3 separate regions of the Homo sapiens genome follow, and all the other regions are linked to region 3. The links are contacts of gene promoters, found by promoter capture Hi-C in blood cells and fetal thymus (Javierre and others, 2016). All regions are on one chromosome and are shown on one strand. The core of a region is centred on a gene start or on the middle of the fragment in contact, and the rest is flanking DNA. Distances in the headings are between cores, read along the strand shown. Region 1 has its middle 52 kb from the start of CDH4. Region 2 overlaps CDH4 (cadherin 4). Region 3 holds the start of CDH26 (cadherin 26).

Region 1 (2,700 bases), core at 178-2,677, 1.2 Mb after region 3:
TTGGCATGGGGGTCCATGCACTAGGCTGAAAGCATAGGAAGGTTACCAAGACAATCTTTGAAATCTCTCATGCGTTTGGTCAAATATAAATCAAGATAAAATGGACTTAAAATTATGACTCATGAAAAAAAATGGCTGTCTCCATGTGTAGTATAAAATTAAGGCGTCATTTTGAGCCAGTTCTATAAATTTCTCTAAGTGTACATGCAACTTACTTTATGACTTTTGTAAATTAGTATCTCAATTTTGTCTTCTGTAAAATGAACATAATAGCACCTGCCTCATAGGCTTGGCATGTGCTAAGTCAAGTATCTAAAAACAGTGCTGAGCACATGGCAGGGGCTGTGGCAGCACTGACTGTTGGTGCTCATATTCTTCCTCTCTAAAGTCTGATCCTCTTTTCCACAATATAAGATTACCATCATGTACTCACTCACAAACTCATTCGTTCATTTACTTATCCAATGTTTATTGAGTGCCTTCTGAAAGCTGGTGGCAATGTCTCAGCTAGTTGTGGGGGATGAAGTAGTGAACAAGGGAAACCTCCAAGTCCAGGAGAAGAGAGAGGCATGAAGTGGAGGCATGGACGCTAATGGAACACAAGAAGGGAATCTGCCCAGGGACAGTGGCAGGGAGCTCAAATGTTTGGGAAGCCAACAAAGGCGTACAGCCCTGAGGAGCCAGGACTCTATCTTAGGAAGAGCACTTGGCAACAGAGTGGAGAAGAGCTTGGAGGAAACGCAAGTTCACAGGTGATGGAGCAGTTCTAATGGAAGGTGCTGGTCGTTTTGAAAGGGAGGGAGATATCATTTGGAGAAAAACCAGATATGAGGGTGAAGAAGAAAGAAGAATCAGGAATGGCTCCTAGATTTAGAGCTTGGACATCTGAGTTAACTGGGGAGGCATGGACTGGCTTGGAGAGCAATGGACAAAGAGCAGCTGTGACCTGTAGGGAAGGGTAAAGCCTGCAAGAGGTGATGATTTGGCCATTCTGTGATTAAAAAAAAAAAGATTTAGTGTTTCATGGAAGTCTACCAAAGAATCCTTCCTACAGAAACAAATGTGCTTGAGGCATTTACTGAGTTACTCAAATAGTTGTTACTTACTGGGAGTAACTACCTAAGATAAAACAAAATGGTGGCTGCATAGGTTGTCATGTATGTGAAAATTCCTTTCATATGCACAATTCCACATCGTGATCACCCCCACTCTAGGAAGACTTGGAGAAATCAAGAATGTCAACATTGTGGTTCAACTAGAAGTGGTGAATCACAAATTTGAACCCAGATCTCCCTGATTCTAAGCATTATTGCCATTCTAAGGGCACCTTGGAGGATTCTTGAGAATTTTTTTGCAGAGAAAGGAATCTTCAAGGTAATGGAAAGGTAAGATATCATTTGCAAGTTTTTGGTGTGAGATACAATTGGTAGGTGTTCACAAGTCTTGGCAGTTACCCTCTAACAGTTTCTTAAAAGATGCGCCAGGCAGATAGCCAGATAAGACCAAGTTTCTATGATAAAACTTGAGTACACCGAGAGATGGTAAAATACAGTTCAAACAAAGTGGAGTCCAGGACTTCAGATTTTGAAGTGACAAAGAGATCTGGAAAGGGTACTGCTTCCACCTTTACAATGAGTAAAGAACTGAACAAACTGCAAACCACTGACTTTTCCTGATATCATAAAAGAACTGAAGTTGCAGAGCAAACAAAACGCCCCAAACCTGGGGAGAGACAGATGCTTGCGGAGAAAAAGAAGAACCAAGCATTCATTTACTTGGAGCAGATGTTGCCTGATTCTACATACACTGGTAATAAAATCCAGCTATGAATTCTTAACTAATTGCTTAAAGCCAAGTATGGGAAAGTGTAAAGCCCTAGGACTAGAAGCATGGATGGGGTTTGCGCTGTCTTACAAGCATGCCCACTACTGTGTGCTTACAGCATATGCAACAACAAAAAAAAGTGAAATCCACGACAGCTATGGCACAAAGGATGAGAAAAGGACTTAGAAACATACAGAGGCCCTTGCACTTCATACAAATTAGTATACTATTATTTGAAGAAGACCTTAGATTTTTTAAAGTACATATTATAAATACCAGGGCAAATATTAAAACATCAAGTGAGATAAATAATTAATAGAGGAAGTGAAAAGAAATTATAAAAATAGTCCATCAAATCTAGAGAAGACAACAAGGGGGAATAAACAAATAACAAATGAAACAACTAGACAACAGCTGGCAAGATGGTAGTTTTAATCCAGTTATATTGATAACCATTTTAAATGTGAATGATCTAAACACAGCAGTTAAAAGACAGAGATTGCCAGGTTGAATGAAAAAAAAGACTCAACAATATGCTGTCCACATGACATTTATTTTAAATTTAAAGACATAGAAATATCAAAAGTAGAAGCATGGAGAGTGATAGATCTTGCCAACACAAGCTACAGAAAGCTGGAGCAACTGTAATAATTCCATACAATGCAGAATGTAGAACAAGGAATATTATCAGAGATAAAGAGTGATAATACATAATTATAAAAGAATCAAGTCTCCCACAAGAGACAATACTAACAACACAGCTTTAAAATACGTGAAGCAAAAACTGATTTATTTGAAAGTGACAGCAAAATTTACAGTTACAGCTGGAGCCTTGAATACTTCTCTCTCAGCAATTGGTTTAACAAGAAGGCAAAA
Region 2 (2,700 bases), core at 14-2,513, 1.3 Mb after region 3:
TCATTTCAGGATGTTCTTGGCCAACAGAATAAAACCCAATTCACATAATCTTAAATAAATGGGAGTAAATTTTTCTTACATAACCGTGAGTGCAGACATAGGTGGTCACATGCTGGAACAGCAGACAAGGGACACGGTCATGTGCCTGCCTAATCCTCTTCTTCCATTCTGCCATCTTTAGTGTGTCATTTAGTGCCTCGTCACTGCAAACTGGCTGCTGTGGTTCCAGTCGTTGCTTCTGAGTTCAGAGCAGAAGAAGGTGCAGATAGTAGCACCATCTGCATTTCTTCCCTGTACCAGGAAGACAAACACTTTCTCAGAATCCCTGCAGAAGTTTTCATTGACTAGGTCACAGGCCACTCTTAGCTAAACTGATGGGGGTGGAGCACTGGGAATGCAGAGAATTGCATTGTCATGTGTGTCTTAGATCCATTATAATCCATCACATGGTAGGTGTCCAAATTGCTCGTCTCAGAACAGAATTGGGGCTTTGTTTTAGGAAGGAAGAAGGAGGGATGGATGCTGAGTAGACCTTCCCCAGTGCCCAGTGCTGTACCCGAAGCAGAGTTGACAGACAGTGAATTGCTGAATGAGTGAATGACTCATTTGCATACAAAGGCATTCAGACAGAGGCATGGTTGAAGAGAGATCAGATGCAGTGTCTGGAATCCATATCTAAGAATCTGCCATTTCTGCCACACTGCATGGCCAGAAGTACTATTATCTTGTCTTTACAAGTAGGTTGAAGATAGGCTCTTTGCCCATGCAGTTTGGTTTGAACCACCTCTGCATAGATAGGCAACTCTTCCAGGGCAGACACATGCTAGATACACAGGCAAGAATGTCATCCCATCTCCCTGCATAGCCGATGTCCAGCACCGGCCTAATGCATGGTGGCTGTGAAGTCAGTATTAGTCAAATAAAGTAATGAATGAGCCGGAAAATACTGACACTGTTCGTGTTTCCGAGTCGCTTTGGTTAACTCACAGCAGACAGGGAGCTGCTATGAATATTCCCATAAGTGGCACTAATGATAAGCCAACCACATATGCCTGGAATTATTAGACACTGGAAGTTGCCTGTCCAGTATTGATTCTCTCTCTCTCTCTCCCTTGCCAACAAACCTCATCTGTGCTAGTCCATTGGCTGACAATGTGCCCTGTTTAATACACCTCTAGACTCATTTACACCAATGTGGCAATGTGGCTTCTTTCTGGTCACCGGTATCTAATTAGGTTAGTCTATTAGGTTAGGCTTTGGGGAAAGCTGTTTTTATTCTTGATAACAAGGAACAAACTGAGCTGGCCATGCCTTCCACCCTTTGCTCTTACTTCTTCCTCCTACCTGGAACTCAGATGTGATGGCTGAGGGAAAGCAGCCATTTTGTGAGTTTGAGGATGGTGGAACACAAATTGGGTCCCAGAAGGCATCCTCAAACAATGGCAGAGCCCTGGACTCATTGTCTCCTGAGTGGTGAGAAAAATAAGGTCAAAACACCACGCTTGGTTTTGTTGTCACATGCAGCCTCGTGCATTCCCTGACTTAGGAAAACTGCACACTAGCAAAGTCAAACTCTGTCCTGAGCCTAGGTTTTCAGGCTCCCTCTACCCTCCAGTGTTCCTTGGACCTTGGCCACTTGCTCTTGCTTTAAAGGCCCTCCTCTGCTCCTTTTGTGAATTGATGTCTGCACCTAGCACACTGGATTGCAGAGAGCATGTCATGAATACTTGGTAACTGTTTGTTGAATAAATGAACAGTCACTACTCCACGCTGTCTTATGCCCAGGAGATGAAAGAACCCTTAGATATATTAAGCCGGGACTATCTGAACCCCCACCAGAGAATGTAAACTCTTTGCTGGATCTCATAGTGATGCTTCTCCAGGAAGTCAGGAGTTATGTATTGGGGGTTTTGCCTCTGGTCACAATATCTACTGGTTCTAGGGAACCTTGGTCTCTGTAGCGAAGCAGAATTATGTGAAGGCTGGGTGGGACTCAGACCCCACTGGTGGCTTGGGTGAGCTCAAAGCCCAGACTTTCTTGCTGTCAAAGTCAGAGGACTACTTCTTTCTGAGCACCCAGACCCCCACTGCCTCCATGGGTGGTCACTTCAGGGATCCCCAAAAATGGGCACGCAGAGCCCATGAGGGAGACCGTGGGATCTCTTTGGCCATCTCTGGGGGTGGTCCTTGCCTTTTCAAGGGGCCGTTATTGTTTGAGGTTTCCAGCAGCTTTTCCCTCTTATAGTTTTGTCTGGTCCCAGGGTTAAGAGGTTCAGAAAGGGAAGTATATATCCTGTCTTTAGAAAGTGGTTGCTATCAGATAAAAGGTAGGAGCGGCCCAGGAATAAAGCACAGAAAGCGCTGCATGGTGCATCATCTGCAGGCCAAATCCCACTCTGAGAGAGGGTCCTGGTAGCCCTGGTTAGAAATAAAGCGAGGCAGAACACTGCCGCCCCGGGCTCTGCACAGCCACTTGCCCCTGTGTGCAGCTGCTTCTCACAGCTCTGCCTTCCATCGCAAGAGGGAGCTGTGGTCAGTGGCCCTGCTGCTACCCAGGAGGAATCTAGGCTCAAGGAGGTGGCCACACCTGCCCCAGATTCCTAAGTCAGTGGTTCCTTAGTCAGTGATTCCTAAGTCAGTGATTCCTAAGTCAGTGGATCAGGATTCCCACCCTGCAAGATTCCTAACCGCTGCTTCTCT
Region 3 (2,700 bases), core at 10-2,509:
TTTCGAATAATGACTTCTTTTCCTCTGGGAAGATACCCAGTAGTGGGATTGCTGGATCAAATGGTAGTTCTACTTTTGTTCTTTAAGGAATCTCCACACTGTTTTCCATAGCAGCTGTACTATGTTATATTCCCCCCAGCAGTGTAGAAGTGTTCCCTGATTGTCACATCCACACCAACGTCTACTGTTTTTTGATTTTTTGATTATGGTCATTCTTGCAGGAGTAAGGTGGTATCGCACTGCGGTTTTGATTTGCGTTTTGCTGATCATTGGTGATGTTGAGCATTTTTTCATATGCTTGTTGACCATTTGTATATCTTCTTTTGAGAATTGTCTATTCATGTCCTTATCCCACTTTTTGATGGGATTGTTTTTTTCTTACTGATTTGTTGGAGTTCATTGTGGATTCTGGATATTAATCCTTTGTCAGATGTATAGATTGTGAAGATTTTCTCCCACTCTGTGGGTTGTCTGTTTACTCTGCTGACTGTTCCTTTTGCAGTGCAAAAGCTCTTTAGTTTAATTAGGTCCCAGCTATTTATCTTTGATTTTATTGCATTTGCTTTTTGGTTCTTGGTCATGAAATCCTTGCCTAAGCCAATATCTAGAACAAGCAAAGAAAGTTTACCTTTTATTTTATCTGTTTACTACTTTAAACAAGGTAATGTGATAAAAAGGTCATGTTAAGGTAATCAGGGTTAATGTATCACAGATTGTGTTTTAAAACTTGCTTACTGCAACCTTAAGTATTGGTATAATATAATCTCAAATTGTCTCTTTCAGAATTCTCATGCAAAGACTCCCGGGTTGCCACAGAGATCCCTGTCCATAGGGAGGCTCTTTCCCATCTCTCCTCCCTCCCACTTTAATTCCAAACTCAAAAAGGCAGATTAATCTAAGCTTAAAAAAGGTTTTAGTAGAAATAATTTGAAAACCCCAGAGCCCTGGGATATTGTTGGAATAACGATTTTTAGTGCTTTGGAAAGTAAAAGTTGATTTTTCTTTTCTTTCATTCTTCCCCATCCCTTCCCCCTTAATAAAGTTATCATTCTTGTCATTTTCTAGTTTTTTTTGTTTGGTTCAAGAGGATAAGATTATAGAAAATAGTCACTAACATATCCTGCTATAGAAAGAGATGATTGGACCTTCTATTTGGAAACCAGAACAAACAAGGAAACAAAGAAACAAATAATTCTGCTTTCCGATAGGTGCTGGTTTTACTTCCGCTGGCTGAGCTGTTGTTCCTGAGGTCAGACCCCAGCCAGTCTTTTGTGTACGTGCAGGACCATGGTGGCTTTAGTTTCTACCCCACCCTTCCTAGGAACTCTACTTGTGGCAAACGTATGTTCAAGCTTACAAGTCAGCCCACCCCACTCTGATAAATGCAAGAAAAGCTGAAAAGGGAGGAGCAAGATGGGATGAAAGCATCTGGGCCAAAGTGACCTGAAAACCTTTAGAGAAGAAGCTGCTGGCTGAGAAGGAGGTGTGTGGCTCCGGTGAGACCACCAGCTTGGAGGACTGGTCATCAGCTGCACGTTCTGGGTCTGTCTTGGGTATTCCCATATGGCCATGAGATCCGGGAGGCACCCCTCGCTGCTGCTGCTTCTAGTGCTGCTGCTGTGGCTGCTGCAGGTAAGCTGAGCCTGCAGCCTAGTGCTCAGGTGCAGGGAACTGAAAGCAAAGCACAAGCTGGCCCTGCCCCTTCTAGGCTAAGGGAGGGGAGAGGGACTGAGTGTGACCTGCTGGGACCCAGGGCTGGCTGTCTTGAGAATGGCTTAGGTAGCAGGGGCTCTGGATTTATATAAAGGGAAGTTAAGGGTCCCAGTCTGTTTGGGGCAACAGTGGGAGCAGGCTAAGGGACCTGTTTAAAACTAATTTATATAGTTCACACTATTTTTAGTGAGATTACATCAACACACACGTGTTTTCTTTCTTTGTTTCTTTCTCCTTTTGTTGAGACAGGGTCTGGCTTCATCATCCAGGCTGGAGTGCAGTGGCATGATCAAGGCTCACTGCAGCTTTAACCTCCCAGGCTCAGGTGATCCTTCCACCTCAGCCTCAAGAGTAGCTGGGACTACAGTAACTTACCACCACGCTGGCTAATTTCTGTATTTTTTATAGAGATGGATTTTCACCATGTTGCCCAGGCTGGTCTCGAACTCCTAAGCTCAAGTGATTTATTCGCCTTGCCCTTCCGAAGTGTTGGGTTTACAGGCATGAGCCACCTCACCCAGCCAACACACACAATTTTTTTTTTTTTTTGAGACAGGGTCTCGTCATCCAGGCTACAGTGCGTGGTGACATCTCAGTGCACCGCAACCTCCTCCTACTGGGTTCAAGCAACCTCCTGGCTCAGCCTCCCGAGTACTGGGACTACAGGTGCACGCCACCATGCCCGGCTAGTTTTTGTATTTTTATTAGAGACAGGGTTTCACCATGTTGGCCAGGCTGGTCTCAAACTCCTGACCTCAAGTGATCTGCCTGCCTCAGCCTCCCAAAGTGTTAGGATGACAGGCTTGAGACACTGCGCCCTGCCAAGTTTTATAATGATACTTCTGTTCACACTTTACATAAGATTGAGGAAATCTCAGTTGTCTGGATCCAAGGCAATTTGAGCAAACCCATGGGGATGGAATGGCTAAATCCATTGCCCCCAACTGCCACTGTTTAAATGGGAATACAAACTAGTGGAGTCAGGAT

The links. Contacts are between HindIII fragments. The CHiCAGO score rates a contact against its expected background, and 5 or more counts as called.
Region 1: a contact is called between a fragment that was not itself captured here and the fragment with the promoter of CDH26 in region 3, in 1 of 17 cell types (total CD4 T cells). The highest score is 6.2, in total CD4 T cells.
Region 2: a contact is called between a fragment that was not itself captured here and the fragment with the promoter of CDH26 in region 3, in 2 of 17 cell types (total CD8 T cells and naive CD8 T cells). The highest score is 5.3, in total CD8 T cells.

Annotation. Positions count from the first base shown.
Region 1 is chr20:61,198,540-61,201,239 of GRCh38, forward strand. No RefSeq gene overlaps it. Among named protein-coding and RNA genes, the nearest start is that of CDH4, 52 kb to the right of the region's middle. The HindIII fragment of the contact is 3,444 bases long and covers 1-2,700 here.
Region 2 is chr20:61,258,573-61,261,272 of GRCh38, forward strand. All of the region lies in intron 2 of CDH4 (cadherin 4), which reads left to right. Among named protein-coding and RNA genes, the nearest start is that of CDH4, 7.7 kb to the left of the region's middle. The HindIII fragment of the contact is 5,359 bases long and covers 1-2,700 here.
Region 3 is chr20:59,957,164-59,959,863 of GRCh38, forward strand. CDH26 (cadherin 26) reads left to right here and starts at 1,260. Exons shown (of 18, transcript NM_177980.4): 1 at 1,260-1,632. The coding sequence starts at 1,564. The HindIII fragment of the contact is 452 bases long and covers 899-1,350 here.